3 separate regions of the Homo sapiens genome follow, and all the other regions are linked to region 3. The links are contacts of gene promoters, found by promoter capture Hi-C in blood cells and fetal thymus (Javierre and others, 2016). All regions are on one chromosome and are shown on one strand. Each heading gives the region's core, a stretch centred on a gene start or on the middle of the fragment in contact. The rest is flanking DNA. Distances are from core to core; before and after follow the strand shown. Region 1 has its middle 17 kb from the start of MESTIT1. Region 2 overlaps COPG2 (coat protein complex I subunit gamma 2). Region 3 holds the start of CPA4 (carboxypeptidase A4).

Region 1 (2,700 bases), core at 125-2,624, 180 kb before region 3:
AAAAATAAATGGGATCATTGGATAACACAGGGAGACAGACCCTGGACAATTGCTGACTATGGACCAACACAGGGTTCCCAGTCAGCAGTGCTGGCCTCTGACCTGCAGCATCGGCATCACCTGAGGATTTGGTAATTTGCAAATGCTCCATCTTCCCAATCAGCAACTCTGGGGATGGAGCAATTTGTGTCTCAACAAGCCCTCAAAGTGATCCCGATGCACGCTAAAGTTTGAGAACCACCCCAAAAAAGCATCCCTGACTTGCTTCTCATGGCCGCTGAGTAGAAGCTTGCTGGGGAGCAGGGCTCCCTTGAAACCACTAGGTCAGCCTAGACAGGTAGACAAATGGCAAGACTCACTCAAGGGGAGACATAAGAAACCAAGCCTGGGTTTCACAGAGGCGTTGGACTGATGGTGGAAGAGATTTTAAGCAAGATTACCCAGCCCATAGAAGAGAGGTAGACAGGACTGGTTTAAGTAATAAGGCTCTGGGAAGAATCAGAATTCACTGATAATCTCTTCCCTATAGGAAAACTAGTTCTGGAAAACTACAAGTTTGTAAATGGAAGAATTAGCAAACTCAAGAACAAAAAAACAAGCAAATGTGACCTTATGATCTTAATAGCGAGCATGTCTACATATCAGAAGGCCCCCAGAAAATGGAAAAGGAACATTTTCAGCTTGGAGAGATCAGATAGTAAAGCAACAAGAAGCTTCAGACATCAGGAACCAAAAACATGCAGACATAGCTGGATGGGGTCAGGGCACTAATGGAGAAGATTGCAAATGACTGTAATTTGCAGAACTGTGAAGCCGTAAATTGCTCTGGGAGAGCTGCCTGCTATGAGTACAGCACTCTCCGCTCTCAAGATGAAGCAGCTGAAAGCTGTGGAATTGGTTAAAATGACTCCTGGAAAAAGAAACAAAGTTGTATATGAAGGCTAAGAGGTGGGGCCCAAAGCCATGAATATAGGCGCCTGGACCATGATCAGAGGTGAGACTATCTTCATGTTTCCGCAGTCCAGGGATGGAGTTTTACAGCTAAAAATTCAAGGGCATTAAAAACAAGCAAACAAACAAACTGCCAATTCTTGTCACCATTAAATTGTTAAAACTGTTATACAGAGACAGTGGAAGGACCTCAGCCTATTAGATCAGGGACTATATACAAGATACAGAGAGGGAACCAAAATTGTTGCTCTGGAAATGTTCTTAGCTTTGGAAATGACCAAAGGCAAACTAGGGACAAAATAGGGGCTTAAGAAAAGAGTAAAGAGACCCAGTACCCTTTCCAAGTTCTAACCCCACAAACTGTTGACACAGCAATAGGAAATAAAAGTGAACATGCACAGCCAAAATGAGGAAGAATAGAGGCACAGGAAATCCAAAAATGAGAACAAGGCAAGTAGGGGAGGCAGAGATAAATGACTGCCAGAGACCAACATCCACTTAAAGCTGTCCTCAGCCCTCTCTACATTTTTCATTTCTGGTGAGTTTTTAACAGCTTTATTGAGCTATAACTGTTGTACAATAAACCACATATATTTAAAGTGTGTAATTTCATGAATTTTGACATATGTGTATACCCCTGAAATCATCACAATAATCAAGATAATAAACAAAGCCATTACCCACTCCGCAAATTTCTTCATGGTCCTCTGTAATCCATCTGTCTTCCTTTTTCACAATCTGTTATTTGCTTCCCCCATCCCCAGGTAATCACTGATCTAATTTCTATCACTATAGGTTAGTTTTCCTTTTCTAGAATTTTATATAAATGGAACCATGCAGTATGTATTCTGTTTTGATTGGCCTCTTTGACTCAACATGATTTTGAGATCCATCATGTTGCTGGGTGTATAGATAGTGTATTATTTGTTACTGCTGAGTAGTATTCCTTATATGGAATCAACTATGTAGCCATCAACTACTTATTTATTCATTTACCTAGTGACTTACAGGAAGACATTTGGGTTGCTTCCATTTTGGATTGCTATAAATAAAGCTATTATGAACATTTGTGTACAAAGCTTTGTGTGGACATATTTCTCTTAGGTAAATACTGATGATATACTTTTTATTTATTTTTAGTTTTAATTGACATTTAATAACTTTACATATTCATGGGGTATGTAGTGATGTTTCAATGCATATAATGTATAGTGAGCCAATCAGGGTAATTAGCATATGCATCATCTCAAACATTTATCATTTCTTAATGTTGGGAACATTCAATATCCTCCTCTTAGCATTTAATACTACATAATAGGCCAGGCGCAGTGGCCCATGCCTGTAATCCTAGTGCTTTGGGAGGCCGATGCAAGAGAATGGCTTGAGACCAGGAGTTTGAGACTAGCCTGAGCAACATAGTGAGACCCCTCTTTTTACAAAAAAAAAAAAAAAAAAAATTTTAATTAGCCAGGTATGATGGCATGTACCTGTAGTCCTAACTGTTTGGAAAGCTGAGGTGGGAGGATTGTTTGAGCCCAGGAGTTTGAGGCTGCAGTGAGCTATGATCACAGCATGCATTCCAGCCTGGGTGACAAAGTGAGACCCTATCTCTAAGAAAAAGGGAAGGAAGGAAGGAAGGAAGGAAGGAAGGAAGGAAGGAAGGAAGGAAGGAAGGAAGGGAGGGAGGGAGGGAGGGAGGGAGGAAGGGAGGGATAAAAACTACATATTATTGTTAACTATGGTCACCTA
Region 2 (2,700 bases), core at 10-2,509, 220 kb before region 3:
CTCCTTTTCATCTGAGGACAACTCTAATGTTGCTTTCCAGTACCATTCCTCCTTCCCTTTCTGAATTTGTCCTAGAGAAAAACTCCCTCCCACCATTTGTACAGCATTCCCACAGACTCAACACGATTTTCCAGGTAGGTGTGTATTGCTTATTTTGGCACTCACTGCCCAGCTTTCCTCGATGTCCTACACACTATGCTGCACCCATTGCTTCTCAGTTCAGTCCAGACCTGCATAGACTGCTGCAGTTAGCCTGTACAGATCCATCTCTTTTGCCTTCTTTCTAATCTTTTGCCCTAGTGACATACCCTTTTCTTTAATTATTATTCTAACAAAGCTTTCTGGAAATACCTCATAAGTGTCTCTTACTTTGTCATGGTCTCCCCCAGGTGGTTGAGACCTGGCAGCTCCCTCCCACCTTTCCCACTCTGCCCTTTGCCACACTGCATTTTCTGTACCCTGGCCCAACTCACATGTCCCTCTCCTGTCTTAGCTGCCAGCATCTATCTTTTCTCTAATTCGCTGGGTTCTTTTCATACAAATCTCCTTAGTGGTTGACTCTCATTTTCAGTGAATCCTCACAAGACAAGCTTAATTTCAGAGAACAGTTTTAATGCAGATCTTCAGGGCATTCTTTCCTGATTCTCTTTGGTATTTGCCTTGCTTTGTCTGTGTAACTCTCATATTTACATTATGGCAGTGCATTCAGTATTTTCTTGCCATGGAAAGGCCCCCGCATCTTGCCTCCTCGCCCCATTTCGTCATCCTCTCCAGCAGCTTCGACAGATTACTGCCTAGACTTCCTTAGATCCCTGTAACCTCTCATTGTATCAATCAAACCATTTAAGTAAAAAAATTCCCACTAAGGTTTCAGGAACATTATCTCTACTAACACCATTCCTATTTACTTCCTTAATCTCTTTCTCTGTATCAGGTCCTTATATGTAAGTGTCTTCTGTCTTTACCTCCACATAAAACTCAGCCCCTGTGCCCAGTCTGTGATCTGCCTTCATACCTGATGTTGTCTCTTTGTCCTCCTCATTTGCTGTAGCCTCTCTGCTTAATTGGAACCACACTGGGTTGCTATAATTAATGTCTCTCCTGACTCTTCATTCTAACTTGATCATGACCTTTTCCCCTACCATATTCTGTATCTCTTTCATGGTTTAAAAAAAATGCCTCACCTGACCTGTTCTGGCCTTGTGTTAACTTTCACTTCTTTCCCCTTCTCTCTGAAGAAAATCCTATCCTAATTAAACCACAGTCGTTCTTTTCTCAACCCCTAATGGCATTGAAATTGATTCTGCAGGCTTGATAGGTTCATTCTTTCCTATATGGGAAAACCCACTGCCATCGTCTGTTTTCAGCATATTCTGTTGAATCCATCTGCTCTCTGAATTCAGACCCATTCTTCATAGTCCCCACCAGTGGCTTAAATTAGGCACCTTATCTAGCTTATCTCTAACCTTTCAATCTCTTGACTGCCTCAGCTCACCAGAGCCTGTTGGAAAATCATTTGAAATACAAGGTATTTTACAATTTATTCCTAAACAAATTATCTTCTCAGCACCTAGGCATTAGCATGCCTCTTACTGTTTCCAGCTGCCCGGTGGACTTTCTGGCCTCTTTCCTTTTGCCTGTTTGTACATCTTCCTCTGCTTGCCAAAGCTCTTTTGCATCTTTTGAGAGCCAGTTAAACTATTATATCGTTTCACATTTTTTACAGTTTTCCCAGGCTATTTGTTAATCCCGCACCCTCACATGGCACTCTCTTAAAACTTAAAGGATCTATGGCATTGAGTTGTAAAGTCATAGATAGATCACACACACACACAGCCCACACACTTATTTAACTCCTAGACAGCTCCTAGAGACAGAGATCATGTCTCAGTCATCTTTTTATCCAAGTGTCTGGCACATAAGCTTATACCTTTACGTGTAATGTCAACATGTATTGACAGTCACTACATGTGTGGATGGATGAATGGATGGAATTTAAAGTCAAGACTGAGCAGATGAAAGTCTTATTACCCAATCTGTCGTATATGGTCTTCACATCTGAGCCTGTTCTTTCCTCTCCTTGCCTATCCCCCAAATAACTTTTTAACTCTCCCAATATCTAATATTTTTTGTACCTATAAGCTTTTTCCAGACCATAGACAAGATCCTAAATGCCTTTTCTTCATCCCTGCTTGCTAAATCCCCTCCTTCAAACATTTCAGAAAATACTGTCTTTACTTTTTATAAAGACTTCACTTTCCAAAAATGTACCCCCACCTCCATTTCTTATTACTTAACACCACTTGTGTGAAAACATACAACTGCCCACTTGCTTTTCCATTTAAGACACTGACTTTACCAATACTAGAAACTCATTACTGACCTACTCACTTTAGGCTGAAGGTTGACAGATAAAGCAAGTTCTCTCTGGTGATCTGTGGACCCGCCATCAGTCCACAATCTAAAGATAGTATTGAGATGCTGATGAGATTGGTCAATGTTAATCTGATGATCTGTATGCTTTTTACCACAGGTTTTTTTTTTGTTTTTTTTTTTGGTCAGGTCCTACAGCAGTGGTTCTCAAAATATTTATTTTTCAACATTTAGGCCCCTTTGATAGGCATGGCAAAAAGCCCCCAAAAGTACCTCTCTGCTGCTTTCTTCATACCAATAGAGAAACAGTCTGCCCATGTTATCATT
Region 3 (2,700 bases), core at 1-2,500:
AGACACAGGTGTGAACAGAAGTCATCATCATAAAACTTAGTCAATCTCATATAAGTAATTACCTCAAAAAACAACCCCAAAGTCTCATTAGCCAGATAGTAAAATAGAAAGAAAACTAAGAGACAGATCCAAGAGATATAGGATTTTATTTGGAGATGAACTTGTGTTATAGCAAAAGGGTACGAGTTTTACGTTCAGAGTTCCAGCTCCCCTGCTTCCCAGCTAAGTGGCCTTGAGCGCGTTCCTTAACATTCTAAGGCTGATTTTTTTCATGTTTAAGTGGAAGAAAATAACACCCCTGCCTGGCAAAGTTGTTGTGTGATCAAAAAGATAATGTACATGAAAGCTCTTTGCAAATGGTAAAGTATTATGCAGTAATGAGTTATTATAATTCAGTCTTCTAACAGGGCACCATGGTATCCCTTTTATCTCTCCTACCACCCAAATGTCCTCTCCCCTGCAAACCTCAAAGTATTCTGCATGGAGCGTGTTGAGCACGTGTGTGTGTGCACACACACACGCGCACACACACACGGTGTTCAGGCATGTGTCTCTGCATGTCATTTTCATAGCTGTGTCTAGGCAAGACCTGTGAAATCTCCACGTCCCAGAAGCCAGTAAGAAAGCACCAGCTCAGAAGAGGGTGTAGCTCAGGGGTAGAGCATTAAACTGCAGATCAAGAGAAGGCACCAGCTCTGCAAAGCCTTCGCCATTAACAAAGAAGTGAAACCAACAAGCTTGAGACCCAGGGTTTCCCTTTATGCATGGCGGAAATTGGAAACAAACCATTTCTGGTAACCAGTAACTCTTAGTAATTAATAACGTAGCTCTTAGTAACCAGTAACTCTTAGTAATTAATAAGGTAGGAGTAAGAAAGTAGATGCCTGGAACTGACCTTATAAGTAAGAACTAGGCAGAAAAAGAACTGGCAGGAGATGAGGGAGCTGGGGAGAGACTGCAATGATCATCTAGTCCTGATTTCACAGATGAAATGGGGTCTCAGAGAAGAGAGTGGACTTGTCCAGGATGACACAGGGGCAAAGCTGGAACAAGAGCCCAGGTCTTCTTCCTCCATGTGAGCTATTATCAGCCATTCATTTTCAGTTCCATTTGGCTCCCATATTTCTGAAATAACCAAATAATAAGTCCAAAAGGAACTTACCCAAAAAATTTTTCTTGGCCACAGATGCTGGACCCAATAAGGGCCCCAATGAACAGTATCCACCTCATGTCCCCGGGGAGTCAGTCATACAGTGGCTGAGTCAAGCTGTATTTATAAAGAGTCTGAGAGTGACTCAAGTCCTCAAAAATGCTAATGTGATTCCCAAGCACCCTTGCAACTCTGACTGTGACAGGCAGGCCCTACCAATGCCTCTCCCATTCCTTTCAAGTGATAAAGGTTGAGCATCTCAATTTACAAGGTCAGGAACTTGCTCCAGGAGCTGAAAAAGTCTGTGCCAAGGGTACCATATTGCTCATCACTTGGCATTTAAATAGTGTTTTTTCAGTGAATAAGCTAATTCCACAGTGTTGGATGGAATTTATCCTGATAGGAGAGGTCAGATTATAAACCTGGCATAGAATTACCTCTAGAATAATAATAAAAAAGTTAAGACTATCAAAGCAAGACTGAGCTGGCTCCAAGACCACATGCTTGACAAGCCCTGCCAGAGAATTTCACCAGGGCAGGTCAGGATGAGGAAAGAGGTTTGGGGCCTCTTTTATGTATCTGAAGCCTAATTCTTCTGACTCCACTAAGGAAATAGAAATGTATCAGGCAAATGATATAGAAAGGATGTTTTAGTCTGAATAAATTATCAGTGTTCCTTGGGGTCTGATCTATGGGGAAGGCTTAATGGTTTTATCAATAATAAGATTTTCAGCCGGGCGAGGTGGCTCATGCCTGTAATCCTAGCACTTTGGGAGGCCGAGGTGGGCGGATCACGAGGTCAGGAGATTGAGACCATCCTGGCTATCACAGTGAAACCTCGTCTCTACTAAAAATACAAAAAATTAGCCGGGCGTGGTGGCGGACGCCTGTAGTCCCAGCTACTCAGGAGAATGGCGTGAACCTGGGAGGCGGAGCTTGCAGTGAGCCGAGATCGCACCACTGCACTCCAGCCTGGGCGACAGAGTGAGACTCCATCTCAAATAAATAAATAAATAAATAATAAGATTTTCTTATACTTCCTAGACTGTGGGTCTGGTGTCCTTTCCGCCAAGTCACAGCTGAATAAATGGAAGACACTCATATCTCCATAACGCCTTCAGGGGCTCTGGGACCTTTGAGTCTGTCCTGGGAGCCCCAGTTCCCACAGCCTTTCCCATCCCACCCTCCCTACGGTCTACATGCTTTCCACACCCACTCAAAGGGAGTGGACACAACCAAGGGTCATAGTTGAGAGAGTTAAAGAAAAACTATCCTGACCTGTGTTAAAATGTAAGACCTAATTCAAGATTATTATGATTAGGACCATGGCTATTTCAGTAGGAAAGACTTACTGTGCTTAACACTGAATACGGCAAAGAAAACAGAGAGGATCAGTGGGATTACTAAGAGAAGACATCAAGGTAGGGGGATTCTTGCTAAAAGCAGGCCAAGGACTTATACATCAAAGTCCCCATCAAAGGTGGGGATGAGGAACTTGATCAGATATCAAGGTGGGAGGGATGACTTCGCAGGATCTTTGCTCAGGCTGG

The links. The method cuts DNA at HindIII sites, captures the fragments that hold promoters and counts their contacts. A CHiCAGO score of 5 or more calls a contact.
Region 1: a contact is called between a fragment that was not itself captured here and the fragment with the promoter of CPA4 in region 3, in 1 of 17 cell types (endothelial precursors). The highest score is 5.1, in endothelial precursors.
Region 2: a contact is called between a fragment that was not itself captured here and the fragment with the promoter of CPA4 in region 3, in 2 of 17 cell types (megakaryocytes and M0 macrophages). The highest score is 6.3, in megakaryocytes.

What each region holds. Positions count from the first base shown.
Region 1 is chr7:130,472,183-130,474,882 of GRCh38, reverse strand. No RefSeq gene overlaps it. Among named protein-coding and RNA genes, the nearest start is that of MESTIT1, 17 kb to the left of the region's middle. The HindIII fragment of the contact is 1,317 bases long and covers 716-2,032 here.
Region 2 is chr7:130,508,885-130,511,584 of GRCh38, reverse strand. The region is part of intron 20 of COPG2 (coat protein complex I subunit gamma 2); the gene reads left to right. Among named protein-coding and RNA genes, the nearest start is that of MIR335, 14 kb to the right of the region's middle. The HindIII fragment of the contact is 1,333 bases long and covers 593-1,925 here.
Region 3 is chr7:130,291,711-130,294,410 of GRCh38, reverse strand. CPA4 (carboxypeptidase A4) reads right to left here and starts at 1,250. Exons shown (of 11, transcript NM_016352.4): 1 at 1,163-1,250. The coding sequence starts at 1,230. RefSeq lists an enhancer at 756-845. The HindIII fragment of the contact is 9,413 bases long and covers 740-2,700 here.